2 separate regions of the Homo sapiens genome follow, and region 2 is linked to region 1. The links are contacts of gene promoters, found by promoter capture Hi-C in human tissues and cell types (Jung and others, 2019). All regions are on one chromosome and are shown on one strand. The core of a region is centred on a gene start or on the middle of the fragment in contact, and the rest is flanking DNA. Distances in the headings are between cores, read along the strand shown. Region 1 holds the start of FER (FER tyrosine kinase). Region 2 overlaps MAN2A1 (mannosidase alpha class 2A member 1).

Region 1 (6,390 bases), core at 1,166-3,665:
TTTTCTTCCCTCCCCCTCCAACTACTCTGCTATTTTCCTAACACAGATTCAAAAAATAAAGGAAATGATTAAGCCATTTTGAAAATTTGAAATTTGGAAAGCCAAAACAGTCCTAAAGAAAATTTCACACAAATGTGACCTCTAGGAACAGTATTCATTCAAGAGAACAATTTTCAAAAAGAAAAAAATATATATCCACTGAAAACAAACACTGCAGCATGTATAGAATAAGGATAGATATGGTTTCCATATTGCATACCTCATCATGATCTCTATTTTAGGAGCAGTATGTGTGTATGGTTAGTTATGAATTGTGGATAGGTATGAATTGTGGATTAGAAAGCAGAGAGTCACAAATCAAAGGAGTTGGCAGAAAAGAGACACAGATGAAGAAAAGGAGGGAGGGGTAAGTATTGGAACTACTGAACTAAGATGGCACACAACCAAGATTCCTCTTGCAGTCTATACTTTTAAACAGGAAAAAAGGGAGGTGGAGAGATGGGGTGAGGCATGGATGGTGCTAATCAAAAAAAGTAAAAAACTTTTCAATCATTTTTTATTACCCACCTAGGTTTGATGTCCACATTATTATTTTCATTGTCCAGTAAGTAATGCTATTAGAACAGACAAAGTTTGGTATTTGAGAACATGGAATATATACTAAGGTGACACACAGTGTTTATTAAATGTGTTGCAATGCAATGTGATAATTCCAACAGAGGAAAAAAATGTGAAACTGGATTTGCTATATATTTTTGTATGCTTCAAAAATGCAGCATAGATTTTTGCCACATTCATTTACTTCAAGTATATTCTTTCACAACTGCATTTCCTAGCACAATGACTGGCATATGGTAGACAGCTTTTAAGGTTTTGGAATGAATAGGTGAGAACTCAGAGAACAATTGTAGATATGGAAAGATTCTTGCTGATTTTTCTAGATTTGGGTTCCTTAACACAAACACACATGTTGTGTATCAAACAGCTCTATTTCTACCATATCTTTATTGAAAGCTACTTTCTGCAAATATGTAATAACGTATTCACCAACCACATCTTTCTACATTTTGATTCCCTTTGTATAAATGGAGAAATTCTAAGGTTCTTGGGAAAGGTATTCAGTCATGAAGCAGTCTCCAAAGTTGTATTTTGGCCTTACCTAACCAAATTTTCATTCATTTCATTCTTATTGACATTACATATACTATAACATTTGATGTTCACAGAAAATTAACTTCTATTTTAAGAAGTTTACTCACAGAACCACAGTTTGTGCATTTAACAATCACTATGAAATACATATGAAACATTAACCATCATTTTAGAGAACAATTTAAAAACTCCGAAGTAACTACTTTCCTTAACTTTGTCATCCCAACATTCTGGGTATAGGCATTGTTGGAAAAATATAATTAAAAACCAAAATCTCCCAACCCAGAAATCCTCTCCACAAACGTTAGTAGACAAAACACTTTTATTACTGAATAAGCATTAAACGAGACTGTGATACACATCACAGGCAATTTGCTAAGAGATTGCAAAGACAGAAATCTTGCCCTTTTGTATAGCCAAGTATATACGACCCATTACATACACGTTTTCAAGTTGAACAATAACTAGTCCTCAAGTAAGAGGACCTGACATTTGTGACATTAACTTTACTTAATAATTGGGGTGACCATCTGTGTTAGTTAATTGGTTTTATCCAGAGGAAAAACAAACTTCTCCTGTCTTTATGACGGAAGGTAGTTTTGCAACACGGAGCAAGTTGCTCACCGAAGTTACGCTCCTACTCTCTCACAGAAACTGGGAGATAGGGAAGGATGCTACTCCGTTGATATGTGCAGCATTTCAAAAAAAAAAAAAAAAAAAAGGTCCAGAGACATTCCTGACTGAGCATACAGTTGACAAGACCTATCTAGTCCTCAAGTGGATTTATACACATTTCAAAGAGTTGAGAAAGTACTTAACAATTAAGAAAGTACTTAAGTTTTCTAAGACAAATGCTCGGAGAGAAAGGGACGGGAAATCTCATCCTCCATTTTCAATAGGGAGAATTAAGCCTCTTATTTAAAATTTTTATGTTGGTTTTTGTTTATTTAGCTTTAAAACAGTAGACTTAAAAAAAGTCCAACTTAAGATTTATGTTTTTTTATGTGTAGGGCTGTTCTCTACGGTTAAATAAATAACCCTGCTTAGAGAAAATATTCACCACTCTTCTTTGGCTCCTATGTAACTCAGTTTTTGAGAGGGAGGGGAAATACCGGATTGACGCTATGTGGTTCAACCAATGCAAAAGATAACACCGCCTTAAAAAGTCTACTACAGGAACATGGGAGGGTCACACCCTCGAATAATGACGCATACCTATCCTACTGTTACTGATCACCTAGTAATAATCTTGTAGTTCACATTACTCATTTTTCACCAAATTCTTTTGGTGAAGGACGCTTCAGAAACGGCCATCACTGAAGAGCAGACCCGTTTGGGTTCTCCACGCATTCTAGACTCCCGAAGAGGTAAGAATTTATTATAGGGGGCCACTCCCAGGACCTGCTGTATGCTTTTAAACATCCATTACAATTCCAGCATTGAGTTTCTAACATTTTTAGGCAGGCTCAGGCACTGGGAGTACAGGATTGAAAGACAGTTCCCGTCCTTAAGGGACTCAGAGTAAACTGGAGTTGCTGAAAACCATTCTAAAGCAATCCACGTTAATAACAGATACAAGTAAAACGTGGGAACGTACAGGAAAAAGTGACCAATTCTGAGGCTGAAAAGTGCCTATTTTAGGGGTGGGGGCCTCGCGGCCCTAAAGCAGCTTCCCTTCCCGGAGATTTCAGCTCCAGGGATCGCCCAGCGCCCTCCGGGCACACTTAACATTTTAATCACGCCTCCGCCCCCACTCTCCGAATTCCTTTCCGGCTGCCGACCCGCCGAGTAGTCCCTTCCAGGCGGCCTCAGCTTATCATCGCCGGTCCGGCCACTTCCCGGCCGCGGCCAGGCGAGCCTCCCAAAGTTTCCTGTGAGGCCTTCGTCCGTCTCCGGCCCCATCTCACCACGGCAGCCCAGGACACCCGCTAGGGAGGAGCAGGTTACCGAGGCGGGGAGAGCGGCACAAACGCGCAGACCTCGGGACTCCACCCGGGCTGGTGAGCGAGCCCAGAAAGCGGCGACCGCAGCTCCGCGTCTCCACTCCCAGGGCCCGCAGCTTGGGCTAAGCGTGCGCCCACCCAGCCTAGGGCCCAAGTCCTGCCCCTTCGGGGACCGGGCCAATCGGCCGCTCCCCGCCTCCTGGGAGGTAGTGGAGGAGGGGGCTGAGGGCCGGGCGGCTGCGCCCGCCTTCCGCTCTTGCCCATTGGCTGAGGCCTCGAGGGTGCCCGGAGACCGGAGTGCAGCGGGATTGGTTGCAGAGGTTCGTGACAGTGGCGCCTATTGGCTGTGGCAGCCCCCGTGACGCGGGGTGGTGACTGGCTCCGGAGTCTGAGGGGTTCGGGCTTGTCAGGTTCTAGGTAGGTGCGTTTCGCGCCGCCGGCGGTAGGCGCTGTTGCCCGGGGCAACGCGGGGGGAGGGGGGAAGAGGAGGGAAGGCAAGCCTAGAGCGGGGGCAACAATGCCTGCCCGCAGAGGGGCGCCCGGGATTCGGCCAGGGCGTTGGGGGCTGTGCCGAGGCTCTTCCTCCGCCCTCAGCCAGCGCCCCCCCCAACCCCCGTCCCTGGCTGCAGGGTCATCCGCTCATCCTCCCGCCCGCAGCAGAGCATTCCTGGTTGGGGCTTGGGCCGGGCTACACACCCAGCCCCACGAGGGCCGCCCCTCCCACCATCCCGGGACCCGAAGGCTGAGGGGGCGGGTGCCGGCGCGAAAGGGCTGTGGCGGGCGTAGTGGCTCCGCCCCGTCGCGGGGTCTGGGGGCTGATGGGCGTGAGGCGGGGTGGTGGGGGGACTGTGGGCACCACCCAATCTTGCCTGTACCCTCACCCCTTTTCTCGGCGGCACTCATCTGGGCGCCGCCGTCCCGCTACGGGGGCATTCTCAACCCCTGGTATTCCCCCCATCCCTTCCTGCTTCTGGAGCCCCGCAGTCTCCCTTGACCCGCTCGGTCCTCCCCAGCTCTCCTCCTATCTGTCACCTTCTCCCGCTTTTATCCCCCACCTCATCTTTCTCCTCCGGTCTTGGCCAGAGGTGTCCTCCAAGAGTCTAATCAAGAGATAGATCTTAAGTGTGAAGCTAGTGGTGTCGTCGGTAATTTCTGCTCTGTGGTCTCTTTGCCAGTTAGAATTGGGGAGATGTTTGGAGGCACCTTCAGGGGTCATCCTTCTGCCTTACAGTTACCCCTAGGATCTACTTTCTGAATACGCTCATTGGGTTGTGTTGGTAGGGGCAAGGTACTTCTTAAACAAATTGAGGATTGTACTATGAGGTGGGCACTTTGTACGTTTGCGATTTTGCCATCCACTGTAGTGCAATTCAAAATCTAATAATTTGTTACGGCTGGTAGCCTTACATTTTTTTCCTTCGCCTTATGGTTAAAAAAAGAGCAGCTTTTTAACCTTTTTAATTCAGAAGTTGCGTATATTAATGGTTGTCTCACTATCACTTTGACATAAACTGCTGTAAAGGTGTACTCCATTTTCCTTTTCTCCAGATATGTTAAGATAATAAATTTCTCAGATGAGGTTACCATATATAAAAGTGTAGTGGAACATCAATAAGAGAATAGATCAAAACTATTTTAGTGATTAAAGATTAGAAAATACTTTTCAATTCATATGTGGAATGAGAATAGGATAAAAAAAAAAAACTATTGCAAAATCTTTAGTGCAGTATTTGTAGTCCTGGTATATATACCTGTGTTGCCCTTAAGAAGACATTTGTGAGTAGCTCCAGGTTTGTCAGTCGGGAAAGCAGAGTGTATCTTTTTGTAGTCCAGGAAAGCTTTTCTGCTAGTACTTTTGAGCCAAGAGAATTATGCTTCCAAAGATGCTGGGAATATATTAAGAGAGTACATAGGCATACTTCTGTTTTCATCTTTGAAAGACCTTTAGTGAAGATCTGTTTCTCTTCTGCATTGATTGTTGACAGCATTAAATATACATAATCTAAAACTATGTAGTGTCAAGTTGTTGCAGCTTCTGCACTGCTTCAAAGGTTGATGTCTTTAGTTCAGAAGAAATAATTCAAGCTTTGGTAGACAAATCATTTACATTTCATCTTCGATGTAGATGTTACTGTAACTCTGGACCGTGAACATTTCAAATTTGCCAGTTTTTTCTCAACTATTTTACTATGAAAAATTTCAAACAATGCAGAAGAGTCGAGTTGAACCCACCACCTATATATTTAGCAATAACGATTTCAAGACCACTGTTACACAGTAAACATTAAGGAATAGAGGAACTGAAATGATCAAGCTTAAAAAACCAGCGTATGTGGCCGGGCGCGGTGGCTCATGCCTGTAATCCCAGCACTTTGGGAGGCCGAGGCGGGCGGATCACCTGAGGTCGGGAGTTCGAGACCAGCCTGACCAAAATGGAGAAACATGGTCTCTAATAAAAATACAAAATTAGCCGGGCATGGTGGTGCATGCCTGTAATCCCAGCTACTCGGGAGGCTGAGGCAGGAGAACCGCTTGAACCCGTGAGGCGGAGGTTGTGGTGAGTGGAGATCACACCATTGCACTCCAGCCTAGGTAACAAGACCGAAACTCCATCTCAGAAAAACAAAAAACAAACAAACAAAAAAACCACAAAAAGCCCAGCATATGTATATACATGTATATGTAGTATACATGTATATACACACCACCAAATTATAAGGTGCTTATTTTTGTTTGTGAGTGGGAATTGTACTTACTAAAACTATACTAACTTAATTACATGAGACTATTCAAAGCAATCTTGTGAGTGAGGTAGGAAGTCATCATCTTTGTAATCAAGGCCCAAATAAGTAAACTGCATTTTGGTAATCAGACAAAAGGAAATCTGATGAACTTGTTATACAAAAAAACGTTTTGCTTCAAAATTGGACTCCTGTGTAAATAGATTATAGTTTTGTACTTGATTTATAAATAAACATCTTTTGGAGGGAAGTCCAAGGGACTATCAATTATGTAAAATTTTGGTAACTTGATAAATTGGGTCAATCTTATGTCTGTTCATTTGGAATAAGAATGTATTTTTGTAATGGAAAAAGCTTACAAAGGTGAACTTTTTTTAGTAGAACTGCTTCATGGAGACTGACGTAATTAGAGAAATTTAAGTCAGTATTTCGATAGGACTCAACGATCTTGGGTGTTGTCTCATGGTTCTGAGGAATATTTTGATATAAAACTTCAATTTATAGTAAAGGAATAAGTGGAAATGGGTATAAATTCACACATTTGTATATTTGTA
Region 2 (7,102 bases), core at 2,002-4,501, 1.1 Mb after region 1:
TTTAGCTAGTATTGCATAAAATAACAAAAAATATTTATTCTTGAATTTAATTTACTAAACTAGTTTTGGATATATGCTACTTTTGTCCCCCTTAAACCAACCAGATGCAGTTATTTGCATGAGTATTAATGAATAGAGCCTATTTGTTGTTAGTACCAGATTTTCAATCCAGGAAGAAATGAGGGTTTGGGGAGAGAGACTATTAATGTTTTATGATTACATACTGTAATTGTATTAGGTTACTAAACCAGTTAATTATACAAAAGATTTTGTAATCTCAGCAACAAGGAATAAAGAAACAGAAAATGAGTTAGTATTAAAGATTGTCTTTGTTGGGTGTCTATTTTTGTTAAACCTTACAAATCCAATTTAAAAACTAAACTAACGCATACCTGACAAAATATTCTTACATTTCTCAGTCTCTACTTTAGTTGTTCTTTGACCCTTTTCTCCCCAAAGTAACTATTGCCCAAATTAAGCTTCAGGAGAAAACAAAATCAAGAACGACAAGCAACATTTCCAAAATTATATAAACTTTTTGGTCCTTAATGATTTTGAAACAGAGTTGAGAGGCCGTATAGTTCAACCTACTTTTGTTTTTGGTTTGGTATTTAACTTTTGTTTCTCTATCTGCATTCTCTCCAGATTCTGAAAATGATCAGAAGTGCAGTTGAAGGGCTCTCTCTTTCTTAACATCTTTTAAACTAATAAAAGAACACTCTGTTTTCCTTTTCATTATCGTTCAGACATCGCATTCAAAAGGTTTCTAAAAATACTAAATTAGAAGAAATCTTGTGCTCACTAGCCTTAAAAGCTCTACAAGATCAGAGCAGTTCAGAATTTCTAATGAAGGCGTGGCACGGTGGCTCACACCTGTAATTCCAGCACTTTGGGAGGCCAAGGCAGGCGGATCACAAGGTCAGGAGATCAAGACCATCCTGGCTAACAAGGTGAAAGAAACCCCGTCTCTACTAAAAATACAAAAAGTTAGCTGGGTTTGGTGGCACGTGCCTGTAATCCCAGCTATTCGGGAGACTGAGGCAGGAGAATCGCTTCAACGCAGGAGGCGGAGGTTGCAATGAGCCGAAATAGCGCCACTGTACTCCAACCTGGGCAACAGAGCGAGACTCTGTCTCAAAAAAAAAAAAAAGAAAAAAAGAAAAAAAATTTCTAATGAAATATATTGTTTTGCCCATGTCAGGTTTAATAAATCCATTTTATAGCACCCATAATTTAATGAAATGCAATTTATTTCATTTGTAGAAAATAACACTCTTCTGGGGGAAAAGTTGAGGGAGGTGGGAATTAATTTTTCTTGCAGTATAATCATCTTTCATTTAATTGAAGCTTTAAACATTACCATATAGGCTGCTACTTTAGCTTTTTTGGTTAATCTGTAATTAGAAGATAGAATATAATACAAACAGAAGCTCCTGTATCCTCTTGTGTTTTATTTAATACTGCACCTACAAGGAAAGTACATACCTTGCAATAATATAATACCAATAAGTGACATTGTTAACTGTGGCCTTATTTGTCTTCAGAGCTGTAATTATTGGACTTTAGTGTCCTAGTTTCTGATATCAACAGCTACTTTGAAGAATTAGGTCACTGTGGGTAACGAGTATGTCGTGTACATTTCATTGGCGCAAGGACTGTGTTCTCCTAGGCAGGTGTTTGTTAGCGAGTTAGTATGTATGTGTGTGTAAACCATGTTTTAACCCTTAGGGGAAACATCTTAAATGCAATACTTCTGCCCTGTTTTCCACCAACATATTATAAAGTATTATATGTAATGGATCTTACTCAAAGAAAACAAGCAGCCTGGAGGTAAAATGTAATGAACTGACATCAAAAAGTATGGAAGGAAAGACTTTCCTTTGACTGAAATGACTGATTTTCTTGCATATTTAGCAATCGAACAGAGTTGCTTAGTTTTTCTCTGAGCAATTTTGAATATATAAACATAAGTGGATTTATAACCTGACTCTTGGCTTTTAGAGAATCAAAATGAGCTTCATCTAGTTAAACATATTAGGGGACTTCAAAAAGTTTGTGGACAAATGGAATTAAAAGATAAAAATTAAAAATATAAACTATTTCTCAACATAAGCTTCATCAAGTTCATGACGCTTTTGTAAGCAATGAATCCAGCTACTCAGTCCATCCCTAAGGAACAGAGGGTCCTGGAAATTTAACCATGTCATTTCAGTCTACTTATATTATTAAGTAAAATGAGTGCCCATTAAATATTTTTTTAAGATTAGGAAACAAAAAGAAGTCAGGAGGAGCCAAATTAGCACTGTAAGTGACTGCCTAATGATTTTCCATTCAAACTGTCACAAAATTGCCCTTGTTTAATGAGAGGAATGAGCAGGAGCATTATGGTGGAGAAGAACTCTGATGAAACTTTCCTGGGTGTTTTTCTGCTAAGGCTTTGGCTAATGTTCTCAAAACATTCTCATAACAAGCAGATATTACTGTTCTTTGGGCCTCCAGAAAGTCAACACACCAAATGCCTTGAGCATCCCAAAAAGCTGTTGCCATGACTTTTACTCTTGGCCAGTCTTCTTTTGCTTTGATTGGACCATTTCCACCTCTTGGTAGCCATTGTTTTGATTGTACTTTGTCTTCAGAATCATACTGGTAAAGCTGTATTCCATCTCCTGTTACAATTCTTCAAAGAAATGTTTCAGGATCTTGATCCCACTTATTTAAAATTTCCATTGAAAGCCCTGCTCTTGTCTGCAGCTGATCTGGACGCAATGGTTTTGGCACCCATTGAGTGGAAAGTTTCCTCAACTTTAATTTTTCAGTCAGAATTGTATAAGCTGCTAATTGTTAGTTCTCTTCAGTTAGAGCAGGAGCAAACTTAATTTTTTTCTTGAAAATTGGTGTAGTCTTCGTCTTCTACATTGTCCCATCCCTTCTTAAAACAATTTATCTGTTTTGTAAAGTGCTGATTTTCTTGGACCATTGTCTCCATAAACTTTTCATAAAGCATCAGTGATTTCACCATACTTCCACCTAAGCTTCACCATAAATTTGATGTTTGTTCTTGTTTAAATTTTAGCATAATTTATATTGCTCTGATAGGGGCTCTTATCAAATCCAAGTCTCACCCTTCTTAGTGCTCAAACTAGATCCTGTTCAGACATGTTACAATAAGTAAGTATGAGTTTATTTTGATGAAATCCATGCATAGTTTTTTCATGATATGCATTTTCCATGAAACTTTTGAAGACCCCTCTTATAAGGGAATCACATTGGGATTTGGAGATCCAAATCCTTAGTTTTGCCTCTAAGCAAACTAGAGGAGTATGGGTTTGTCCTTTAATTTCTTAGGGACTCAGTTTCTTAATCTATAAAAAAGGTAGATGTTCAATTAGGTATAACTGTCAAAGAGTCTTCATACAACTTAGTTTCACATAAAATCTCTTGTGCCTGACTCCCTGCTTCTAAATTCATCTTCTACACTTGGTCTTAGCCAAAAGGCCAAGAAGTGATTAAATTCATCTTCTAAGAATGCCTGAATCTGGGGCTTCCATCCCTGGAGTCTGCCCCACTTGTAAACAAGGTCTCAGAGCTTCACTGAAGTTCTTTTTATTTTCATAAAAAGATTCATGAAGACATTAAGATGGTTTGCAATCAATCTCTCATTTTTTTCCATAGCTATATTCCATATTTAGTTTGATTTAAAAGTAAAAAGCATTAAGTAAGTTATAGCTAGGCAGGCTTAGGTAATTAAAACATTTTTGGAATATCATAATATGCAATTGACTGCTAAGGATTTTTTTCCCTGTTAATTGGAACTTTTAAAAATTGAAATAAGTAGCTATGTGACGAATCTGATCATTCCCTACAGGCATGAAAGAGAAGGTTATTTTAAGGGACTGCAAGCACATTCTGGTTACACAGATTCAGAACTCAGAGGTTATCTTTGGGGCTGTTTGAGAGCAGCTGATTGTTGAAGCCATAACTCCTTAGCAAAGAAGCATCATCCCCTACAAAGGTGGGTTGCACTGAACTCAGGTGAAGGGCACAGGGATGGGGGAAACACAGGAGATATGTAATGGCTCAGAGTTGAGACTCCAGAGCCAGTTCTCTTGTGTTTTATTCCCAGGCCCATCCTAGGTCTGCCACTTAGCAGCTGTTTGACCTTGCACAGGTTACTGCCAACCTGGCTTTGGTTTTATCATCCTGAAATGTTGACAGTAGTAAAATCAGCTTCAGAGGATGTTTGGAGTATTCACCGAGTAAATATACAAGGAACCTTACCCATAGTGAGTGTTGTATCTACTTACAAGAGTGAGTGAGCCAGATGGGTTAGATAGTTTACTATTATAAGACAAAGCATGGTCATTAAGGATTGGGGGAATTGGGGAGGATTTAATGAAGGAAGTGAGTCACTGAGAGGCTAGGTCTTAGAGAATGTCACATGAAAGGCAGAAAGGAGGAAAAGAATATCACAATGTGTGAAATAAGGTTGTTTAGAACCCCACTATAAGGATTTGAAGAACTCTTTGTCCCTTATATATTTTTTAATTGACTTGAAGTTTTTCTTTATACATTTAAATAATTGCAAAGGATGTTATTTTGGTGTATTGTACATGGTGACTTTTAAAAATAAGCATATCCAATGGGCAGTGGTACTAAATCATGTGTTTTTTAAAAGCCTGCACTAGCTTTTTCTTTAACTGTCGGAAACTTCACATCATTATTTTCTCCTTATAATTACATTCTATTTCTCCACAGAATGTTATCTTAATGTAGTATTTTTGTGGTTCAGAGCCTTGTTATTGGTCAGTCTTTCATTACTTCTCTAAAACAAAAATCATGTGTGTGTGTGTGTGTGTGTGTGTGTATTTATGTATACAGTTTTAAAAGTCTGTTATAAGGCTCTAAGTATTTTATTTCTTCTGGATTGAGATATAAAAATTATTATTTGTATGCAGTTGGTCAAAAAACATAAATATGTTCCTATTTTAATAATTTTATTTTATAAATTTTAATGAAAACATTTTTCTCAGTGGGTTGTACCTTTTTAATTCCTAATGGATAATGTATCCATTGATGAATGTCACTCATTGCTAGAATGATATATGATTTTATTCTTAATTTTTATTTATATAAATATCAGTGCAAAGGAAAGTTGTTCACATAAATAAGTAGCTGGTAATGGAAGGAGTTTTCTTTTTTTTTTTTTTTTTTTTTTTTTAGTATTTATTGATCATTCTTGGGTGTTTCTCGGAGAGGGGGATTTGGCAGGGTCATAGGACAATAGTGGAGGGAAGGTCAGCAGATAAACATGTGAACAAGGGTCTCTGGTTTTCCTAGGCAGAGGACCCTGCTGCCTTCTGCAGTTTTTGTGTCCCTGGGTACTTGAGATTAGGGAGTGGTGATGACTCTTAACGAGCATGCTGCCTTCAAGCATCTGTTTAACAAACCACATCCTGCACCGCCCTTAATCCATTTAACCCTGAGTGGACACAGCACATGTTTCAGAGAGCAAGGGGTTGGGGGTAAGGCCATAGATTAACAGCATCCCAAGGCAGAAGAATTTTTCTTAGTACAGCACAAAATGGAGTCTCCCATGTCTACTTCTTTCTACACAGACACAGCAACAATCTGATTTCTCTTTCCTTTCCCCACACGTCCCCCCCTTCCACTCGACAAAACCGCCATCGTCATCATGGCCCGTTCTCAATGAGCTGCTAGGTACACCTCCCAGACAGGGTGGCGGCCGGGCAGAGGGGCCCCCCCACTTCCCTCCCGGATGGGGCGGCTGGCCGGGCCGGGGCTGCCCCCCACCTCCCTCCCGGACGGGGCGGCTGGCTGGGTGGGGGCTGTCCCCCACCTCCTGGAGGGGGCGGCTGCCGGGCGGAGGGGCTCCTCACTTCCCAGACGGGGCGGCTGCCGGGCGGAGGGGCTCCTCACTTCTCAGATGGGGCGGCAGGGCAGAGACGCTCCTCACCTCCCAGACGGGGTGGCGGTCGGGCACAGACACTCCTCAGTTCCCAGATGGGGTCACGGCCGGGCAGAGGCGCTCCTCACATCCCAGATGGGGCGGCAGGGCAGAGGCGCTCCCCACATCTCAGACGATGGGTGGCGGGGCAGAGGCGCTCCCCATATCTCAGACGATGGGTGGCCGGGCAGAGACGCTCCTCACTTCCCAGAGGGGATGGCGGCTGGGAAGAGACGCTCCTCACTTCCCAGACTGGGCGGCCGGGCAGAGGGGCTCCTCACATCCCAGACGATGGGCGGCCAGGCAGAGACGCTCCTCGCTTCCCAGACAGGGTGGCGGCCGGGCAGAGGCTGCAATCTCGGCACTTTGGGAGGCCAAGGCAGGCGGCTGGGAGGTGGAGGTTGTAGCGAGCCGAGATCACGCCACTGCACTCCAGCCTGGGCAACATTGAGCACTGAGTGAGCGAGACTCCATCTGCAATCCCGGCACCTCAGGAGGCCGAGGCTAGCAGATCACTCGTGGTTAGGAGCTGGAGACCAGCCCGGCCAACACGGCAAAACCCCGTCTCCACCAAAAAAATCCGAAAACCAGTCAGGCGTGGAGGCGTGCGCCTGCAATCCCAGGCACTCGGCAGGCTGAAGCAGGAGAATCAGGCATGGAGGTTGCAGTGAGCCGAGATGGCAGCACTACAGTCCGGCCTCTGCTCGGCATCAGAGGGAGACGGTGGAGAGAGAGGGAGAGGGAGAGGGAGACTGTGGGGAGGGGGAGGGGGAGGGGGAGAGGGATTGAAGGAGTTTTCTTATAGGAATATCATTCAGTACTTTGAACTCCTGAGTTAGATGCCATAAGCCACAGACTGATCTATCGTCAAACATTAATTTTAATCAATTATTTTTAAAGATCTACTGCCTGACAACCTGATTAGGTATGCTTTCAATTTTGGTGAAAGCAAGCAATTGGAAACCATGTGTTTTGCAGAAATATTTGTTGCTTAGTCATTAAAGTCCAGTCAGACACCAATATGTTGAACTGTTTTTGTTCAGTACCCACTAAAGAAGGTGAGAGATATGCTGCTGCTTGTTTTATTTTTTTTATAAGTTGGGAGAAGAAATAGAGTGGTGGAAAAGAAACATCTGT

What was found. The method cuts DNA at HindIII sites, captures the fragments that hold promoters and counts their contacts. A contact is called where the count stands out against the background at its distance.
Region 2: a contact is called between a fragment that was not itself captured here and the fragment with the promoter of FER in region 1, in 1 of the 25 tissues and cell types used here (dorsolateral prefrontal cortex).

The regions. Positions count from the first base shown.
Region 1 is chr5:108,745,482-108,751,871 of GRCh38, forward strand. It overlaps FER (FER tyrosine kinase), which reads left to right and starts at 2,416. Exons shown (of 20, transcript NM_005246.4): 1 at 2,416-2,519. RefSeq lists silencers at 3,183-3,282, 3,363-3,422, 3,553-3,962. The HindIII fragment of the contact is 13,051 bases long and covers 1-5,799 here.
Region 2 is chr5:109,826,969-109,834,070 of GRCh38, forward strand. The region is part of intron 16 of MAN2A1 (mannosidase alpha class 2A member 1); the gene reads left to right. Among named protein-coding and RNA genes, the nearest start is that of LINC01848, 53 kb to the right of the region's middle. RefSeq lists a silencer at 5,747-5,994. The HindIII fragment of the contact is 4,676 bases long and covers 914-5,589 here.